3 separate regions of the Homo sapiens genome follow, and regions 2 and 3 are each linked to region 1. The links are contacts of gene promoters, found by promoter capture Hi-C in human tissues and cell types (Jung and others, 2019). All regions are on one chromosome and are shown on one strand. Each heading gives the region's core, a stretch centred on a gene start or on the middle of the fragment in contact. The rest is flanking DNA. Distances are from core to core; before and after follow the strand shown. Region 1 holds the start of SEL1L2 (SEL1L2 adaptor subunit of SYVN1 ubiquitin ligase). Region 2 has its middle 59 kb from the start of NDUFAF5. Region 3 overlaps NDUFAF5 (NADH:ubiquinone oxidoreductase complex assembly factor 5).

What was found. The method cuts DNA at HindIII sites, captures the fragments that hold promoters and counts their contacts. A contact is called where the count stands out against the background at its distance.
Region 2: a fragment that was not itself captured here is called in contact with the fragment with the promoter of SEL1L2 in region 1 in 2 of the 25 tissues and cell types used here (mesendoderm cells and pancreas).
Region 3: a contact is called between a fragment that was not itself captured here and the fragment with the promoter of SEL1L2 in region 1, in 1 of the 25 tissues and cell types used here (mesenchymal stem cells).

What each region holds. Positions count from the first base shown.
Region 1 is chr20:13,989,323-13,992,039 of GRCh38, reverse strand. SEL1L2 (SEL1L2 adaptor subunit of SYVN1 ubiquitin ligase) reads left to right here and starts at 1,426. Exons shown (of 20, transcript NM_025229.2): 1 at 1,426-1,563. The coding sequence starts at 1,506. It also overlaps the pseudogene TRE-CTC10-1. The HindIII fragment of the contact is 28,140 bases long and covers 1-2,717 here.
Region 2 is chr20:13,843,048-13,845,747 of GRCh38, reverse strand. No RefSeq gene overlaps it. Among named protein-coding and RNA genes, the nearest start is that of NDUFAF5, 59 kb to the right of the region's middle. The HindIII fragment of the contact is 5,333 bases long and covers 1-2,700 here.
Region 3 is chr20:13,789,071-13,791,770 of GRCh38, reverse strand. The region is part of intron 3 of NDUFAF5 (NADH:ubiquinone oxidoreductase complex assembly factor 5); the gene reads right to left. Among named protein-coding and RNA genes, the nearest start is that of NDUFAF5, 5.4 kb to the right of the region's middle. The HindIII fragment of the contact is 3,687 bases long and covers 1-2,700 here.

The DNA.
Region 1 (2,717 bases), core at 177-2,676:
ATAAAGAAGTTTGGGTTTGTTGTTGTTGTTTTGAGATGGAGTCTCACTCTGTCGCTCAGGCTGCATTGCAGTGGCACAATCTCTGCTCACTGCAACCTCCACCCCTCAGGCCCCTGGCCCCAGGATTCAAGCACTTCTCATGCCTCAGCCTCCTGAGTACCTGAAACTACAGGCGCATACCACCACGTCCAGCTAATTTTTGTATTTTTAGTAGACACGGGGTTTCGCCATGGTGGTCAGCCTGGTCTCGAACTCCTGGCCTCAAGTAATCCAACTGCCTTAGGCTCCCAAAGTGCTGGGATTACAAGTGTGAGCTGCCACGCCCAGCCAACATTAAGGATCTTGAGAGAGAGAGAGATTGTTCTGGATCATGTTGGTGGGCCCTAAATGTAATCACAAGTATCTTTATAAGAGGGGCACAAAGGGAGATTAAACTACAGAAGGCAAGTGATGACTGAGCAGAGACTGAAATGATGTGGTCACAAATCAAGGAATGCTGGCAGCCACTTAGAAGCTGAAAAATTCCAGGCCAAGAATGGATTCTTCCCTGGAGCCTCCAGGAGGAGCTAGCCTTGTCTTTGATTTTAGCCCTGTAAGAATGGTTTTGGAATTCTGGTCTCTAGAACTATGAGAGAATAAATTCCTGTTGTTTTAACCCATTACGTTTGTGGTAATTTGTTATCACAGCAATGGGAAACTAATAAAAGGAATAAAACTGTAAATTCAAAACAATAAAATGTCTATTTCTAAAGTAATGACCTGGACAGACTGTAAAAGTTGGATATTTTTTGTAGGCATAATTTCTCAACTAGCTCTGTGCCTTGGATATTTTTAATATTTATATGTTTTCCCTAAATATTCATTTTGATTTCTCGTAGCTTTGAAGGTACCACTTGTGAGATGTCTGTATTATCTGAGGTATGTAAAGACATTGTTAAACAGTCTTTGTTTGCCTTTGTTCCAGTAAATCCTCAGCAGTTTCTAACTGGAAAAGAGGATAAAGATTTTCATCCAGATTGGGAACAAAGCAGACTTGGCCCATTGTTTCTTTTCCGCCATAGCCTAGAGATACCAGCTTACAGGATGATGTCAGATCAGTTCATGTACCTTAATTGTGTTTTTACATAAGTGTAGTTTGTACCTCTAGAGGCAACATAAAAATAAGAACTTCCAGCACCCCTGAACACAGTTGAACGTGTGGACACGTACGAGTCGGACTTCTGGTCCCTTCCTTTCATGTTAGAGAGCCACCCCTAATTTCTAGCCTACCCCTTATCTTCAGCCAGAGGAATAGCAGTGGATCCTTTCCACAGCCTACATTCTCCAGCAGCTGCCTTCATTCCGGCTTGAAAGGAACACTCTGGCAGCCCATTGGCCCAAGAGTAAGGAAATGGTTGCTTAGCAACTGACTCCTGCCCCCACCACAGTCCCTGAGAAGAGGAGCTCTTGGGCCAATCACCTAGTTTCTGCCTGTGTTACAGTGAAGAGAAGCTGCTTAAGAGAAGATGAAGCCCTTGTCTCTGTTAATAGAGATATTGATAATTCTTGGGGTCACAATTAAAAGTAAGTTTTTTTGTCCTTAGAGTTCTCTATGAGGGTCTCTTCTCTTTGCTCAAACAGCGCCAAGGGCAGAAGCCAATTAAAAGACTAGAAGTAACTTTACTATATCCCTAACTAATGCCATTTTTGTACAGGTACTTTAAAATGTCCAATAAGAATAATAGATGATAATGATAGTCTCACTTGGGATAATACTTGGGAAGGGTGTGTACTTGGGAAGGGTGTGGGGGATGGGGAAAAAACAAATCTATGAGGAAACCACTACAGTAATTGTTATAAAGTAGGGATATTTAGGGCAAGTTGTTAAGTGTTATTAAATTTAGAATATCATAAAGGTCTAGTTCCAAGACTTTAAAGGAAAAATATAAGACTCAAAGAGTGTGAAAGATGTATAAACATGCTTTTTTAAAATATTTACACAATAACAATTTCACTTCCAAAGTTTCAATGTTTCCTAAATAGTTACTATCTGAAAATGGAAGTTATTTTCCATCTTGTTTCTTTGGCCATTTTTTTAGTTACTTTTTACCCAATCCTCATATAATGTGCTCATGATAAATTCAATTTAAGAAATATGTATTTGGTCCCTGCTTGTCTAGTGGTTAGAATTCAGCACTCTCACTGCCACAGCCCAGGTTCAATTCCCTGTCAGAGAAAAGGAAAAAAAAAGAAATATTTGGATTTTACCCAGAAATGTAAGATTGGTTTACCACCCATAAATCAATGTAACAATCACATCAACAGAATAAAAGACAAAGATCACATGATCATTCTAATCTAGTAAAAGCATTTGACAAAATTCAACAGGCTTTGTGATAAAAATGTGTGACAAACTAAGAATGGAAGGAAACTTTATCAACCTGATAGAAGATATTGAAAACCCAAAGCTACTATATTTAATGGTGAAAGACTGACTGCTTCATCCCTAACATCAGGAATAAGACAAGGATGTCCACTTTTGCCATTTCTGTTCAACATTGTACTGGAAGTTCTAGCTATGGCAATTACACAAGAAACAAAAGTAGAAGATATCAAGCTTGGAAAGAAAGAAGTAAAATGATCTGTATTCACAGAAGACATGATCTTGTATACAGAAAATCGTATGGAATCAACTACGAAACTATTAGAACTAATAAATGAGCTCCATAACAAATGCA
Region 2 (2,700 bases), core at 38-2,537, 150 kb after region 1:
TATAATCCCAGCTACTCGGGAGGCTGAGGCAAGAGAATCACTTGAACCCAGGAGGCGGAGGCTGCAGTGAGCCGAAATCACACCACTGCACTCTAGCCTGGTGACAGAGTGAGACTCTGTCTCAGGAAAAAAAAAAAAAAAAAAAAAATCTAATTTGCTTTTGTGACTCCCTTGATTTCCTCCCCCAATTCTTCATTAAATTGGAGTAGCTCTTCAAGTAAATCCATTTTTCAAAGGCAAGTCAGGTAAATAATTTTGTTTCTCTGGAGCAGGGGTCCAGAGTCATTTTCTCAGTAACATTCTCCTGGAATTCTTTTCTCCAAAATCTTGAGTAGTGGAGGTGCTATATAGTTTGCTGCATTCCCCTCACTGGGCATCCCAGAAAGCCCTAGAGAAGAGGGCATGGTGAGGCTGAGAAGAGAGGAAAGAAACATTTTGAAGCACCTGCTATGAGCCAGGCTCTGTTTCCATCTGTTTTCTCATTTCATCTTCATGATGAGGCTAGGAGGTAGCTAGAATGACCTCTGTTTAACACAGGAGGAAACTGAGGCCAGAAGAAGCTAGAAAAGATCACGTAGCTGATAAATAATGGAGCTGTGATTTGAGTCCAGATCTAACACCACAGATGTTCTTTCCTCTATGTTACGGTTCCAGTTATTGCTTGCTTCTTAACAAACTTCTCCAAAAGTTAGGGTCTTAAAACAACAATCACTTCATTTTATCTCAAGATTTTGTGGGTCAGGAATTTGGGCAGGGTGTGGTCAGGTGATTCTTCTGGTCACTTAGTGGATGGGCTGTTCTAGAATCCAAGACAGGTTTACTCACTCAGCAGTGACTGTTGACCAGTATACCCACATCCCAGATGCGGCCTCTTGGCATGGTGGACAGAGCATTTGGGCTTTTTACACTGTAGCTCAGCATTCCCACAGAGAATGTTCACAGAGACACAGGCAAAAGCCACAGCTTTGCTAAGACCAAGCCTCAGAAGTTCCAGAACATCCCTTCCACCATGTTCCGTTAGTCAGGCATTATACTCCGTCTCTCAGTGAGAGAAGTAGCAAAGAATTTGCAGCCATATTTAACCTACTATAAAAGATACTGTTTAAAAATCTACCAATGGTTACATAAATTACAGTACAAAAATTGGCAGAAAAAAAATGCAGCCCAAGCCTGAGCTGCCTGTTTTGGAAAACAAGGATTAGACAGCCCAGTTAGACGCGTGCCTGGCTCTCTTCATCTTCCCACCTTTCAGACTGAAGAAATGCAGATGTGTGAAGGTAAGTGGAGGGGGGAAGAGATGTCCTCCTCTGTTCCTTAGCTAAACACACACACACCCTCACATTGGCCGCTACACACACGCACACACACACACACACACACACACACTCTTGAATAATGCTTAGTTCTTTGCTTTGGCTCAAGAGACATGAGCCAAGAGATGCAGAGTCCCAGCATGGTTGGGACTCTCTGTCTGGGGCACCCTAGGTGCAGGCTCCACTCCTGTGTCTCAAGATTCATTCCTGACACGCAGTGGGTGGGAGACACACCCCAGACCCTCTCAACCACCTCCCATCCTCATTCAATTTCCGTTCCCGAACCCACAGTCCCCATAAGCCTAGCTCCTCTGCCTCAGCTCCTGGCTGAGGTCCTCCTGTGGGGATATGACCTTTAGCATGGGTTGCTGTCAGCCATCCTCTGCCCTAGGGTTCTGCTGCTGGATGGGGGAACACAGGAAATTGTGCATCCTTGGAGTGGAGAGTGAGAAAAGCAGCCCTCACTATGGACTGGCCTCTAGATGGGAATGTATCAAATAAATAAATTGAACTTCTCGTGAACTGTGATGGTCGATCTTATGCTCATGTGTTCCCTAAGCCTTATTATGCACAAAGAGCATCTACTTCTTCCCAGTTTTTCTTTTTTCTTTAGAGATGGGGTCTCACTATGTGGCCCAGGCTGGATTGGAATTCCTGTGTTCAAGTGACTCTCCTGCCTCAGCCTCTTGAGTAGCTGGGACTACAGGCACACACCAGTGTGTCCAGCTCCCAGCTTTGGGTTTTAATATCAAAGTTACCCCCTTATTAGTTTAGCACTGGGTGGCGCTGGGCTAGGTATTAAAGTGTGGGAAAAACCCTTCCAAACCATCCTGCTAGTCAGGTAGTTACTGACTGGAGACTCATGGTCTAGAAAATTCATGGTTTTGAATTTTCAAATTTTAATTTTACATTGCATTTTATCCTATCTTCGAGTAAGTGATTAGAAAACCCAGAACTCCCATTATTAAAAATAAACCTTCACAAATTGTCTGGCCACGAATGTCACCTTGACATTGTTTCATTTTCAGCAACTTCAATGAGCTTTACCTGAAAATTACTCCAAGTTCTTCCAGGCTCTCCCACTGTCTTGTACTGTTCCCCACATCATTTAGCAACAAGAACACATGGACCCATGGCCGGGGGCAGTGTCTCACACCTGTAATTCTAGCACTTGGGAGGTCGAGGCGGGTGGATCACCTGAGGTCAGGAGTTCAAGACCAGCCTGGCCAACATGGTGAAAACCCCATCTCTACTAAAAATACAAAAATTAGCTGGGCATGGTGGCAGATGCCTGCAATCCCAGCTACTCGGGAGGCTGAGACAGGAGAATTGCTTGAATCCGGGAGGTGGAGGTTGCAGTGAGGCCGAGATCATGCCATTGCACTCC
Region 3 (2,700 bases), core at 2-2,501, 200 kb after region 1:
ACCAGAGTGCATGCGAACAGGAGGAACATTGTTATGGTGTTTCAAAGTTCCCATCTCTTGTGAGGCCTGGCTCTATTTCTGGATCCCTGAGTTACATAAGAGCCTCTCTGTAACAAATGTCTCTGTGTTTAAACTGGCTTCAGCACATTTTTGCTTTCAACAATCAAAAGATACCTTACTAAGACACTTTCCATCTTACTATTCCTGGCATCTTTATTGGCTCTTCCTCTTTCTCCCAACCCTAAGTACAATTGCAGAAGGTTCTTTTCTATATTCTTGCCTCAGAGAGTTTACCTATTTCTACGGCTTCAATTGTCACTTCTGAAAGGGACTTCCAAATAAGAACTATAGCCTCCTTTGACAGGTTTACTTTGCCTCACTTAATCCCCTTACCAACCTTTTGAGATGGGTATTATTGATCATATTTTATAGAAACTGAGGTCTAGAGCAATTGATTGGCCCAAGGTCTGAGTATACACAGACAGTGGCAGAGCTGAAGTTTGAAGCCCTGACTTCAAGTCAATGCTCTTAACCTCAATATCCCAATTCCAGTTCCACATTTCCAACTACCTGCCAGCTATTTATACTACCATATTCCACTGCCATCTCAAACTCAACATATCTAAAACAGGAATGATCCCGTGCTCCTTGCCACATCACATCCCCTGAATTTTCCAGTCACAAAAGGTGTAACTTAAACTCTAAAGTTATCTTGCAATAGTCATTTAATAAATACTCATTGTGATTTAGGTACTAGGATTTAGTAGTGATCAAAAATGAGCAAATCCAGTAAGAGAAGAAAGACACCAAATAAACATACATCAGGAGCTTGTAAGTGCTATGGAAGCAAATAAAGCAACTAGTCGGCAGAAAGCAGGGGCACTATTTTCTAAAGCAGTCACGGGAGGAATCTTTGATGAAGTCAGCTGAGTAAAGATCTGACAGGTGAGCAACTAAGACACACAGATACCTTGGGGAAGAGCATAGAGCAAAGCTCTGGCCTGTTTGAGAGACTGCAAGGAGGCCAGGGTTGCTGAAAAGTTGGGAGTGAAAGGAAGAAGATGGGATCAGAGACATGATAAAAAAACAGAATCCTGAGGGTCTTATAGATTAGGACTCTGGATTACTACTAAACTAGATGACAAACTAACAGTTCTGGGCAGAGGACTGACAATGATTTGATTTGTGTTTTACGAGGATACTTTGCCATGACAACAGACTGTCAGGGACAAAGGTAAAGCAGGGAGACCAATAGGAGGCTACTGCAATAATCTAGGCAAGGGGCGATGATAGCTGAACAGCACGGTGATGGGGAAGGTGGCAAGAAGACATAAGAGTTTGGTTATATTTTGAAATGCAAATAAAAGCTGCTGACGGATTAGATGTGGGAGAGAAGGATATAAGAGGAATCAATAAAAATGTTTTTTGGCGTTGAGTTACTAAAAGAATAGATTTGCTCTGCCTACCATATCTGATCAGTCATCAAGTTCTGTTGATACTTCCAGGTCTCTCTCATACATCCCATCATTTATATGTGCTGGCTCTGCATGGGTGGCAGGCCTTTATTTCTCATGCCTGCAATGCCTTTAACACAGCCTTCTGATGGGTTTCTCTACCCTTTCTCTTCTTCAATCTTTCTCGAATGCCATCCCCAGATTAATCTTCCTTAAACATCACTATATCACACCCTACAGCATTCTACCTCTGTGCCTTTCCTCCTGCCATGCCCTGATTTCCAATGCTAGGAACCACCAACTCAAATTCTTTCAAATCCCAGGTCAGATTCTGTGCCCCCTGAGAATCCTTGACCACATGAACTCCTACTGATTTTTTCTTTTCCCCTAATTCCTGTTGCACTTTAATGACTGCACCATTTCTATGGCATTTACTATTACCAATAATAGTGTTTTAGGAGCCCCACCACTCCCTTCCTCACCCTGGCCCAAGTCTATGGTTTTATCTAAGCAGATTTTACGTAGAAATTCCACTTTATGAGGCTGGGCATGGTGGCTCACGCCTGTAATCCCAGCACTTTGGGAGGCCAAGGCGGACAGATCATGAGGTCAGGAGATCAAGACCATCCTGGCTAACACGGTGAAACCCCGTCTCTACTAAAAAATACAAAAAATTAGCCAGGCGTGGTGGCGGGCACCTGTAGACCCAGGTACTCGGGAGGCTGAGGCAGGAGAATGGCATGAACCTGGAAGGCAAAGCTTGCAGTGAGCTGAGATTGCACCACTGCACTCCAGCCTGGGCAACAGAGCGAGACTCTGTCTCAAAAAAAAAAAAAAGAAATTCCACTTTAAGGCTGGGCGCAGTAGCTCACGCCTGTCATCCCAGCGCTTTGGGATGCCGAGACAGGCGGATCACCTGAGGGCAGGAGTTCAAGACCGGCCTTGCCAACATGGTGAAACCCCATCTCTACCAAAAATACAAAAATTAGCAGGGCATAGTGGTGCACCCCCATAATCCCAGCTACTTGGGAGGCTGCGGCAGGAGAATCGTTCAAACCCGGGAGGCAGAGGTTGCAGTGAGCCGAGATCGTGCCACTGTACTCCAGCCTGGGCAACAGAGTGAGACTCCATCTCAGAAAAAAAAAGAAATTCCACTTTCATCTTTGTGTCCAGCACAATATCGTATAGATAGGAGCTAAAAGAATAAATTAATGTCTTCATGGTCTGAATTATAAAGTGCAAAATA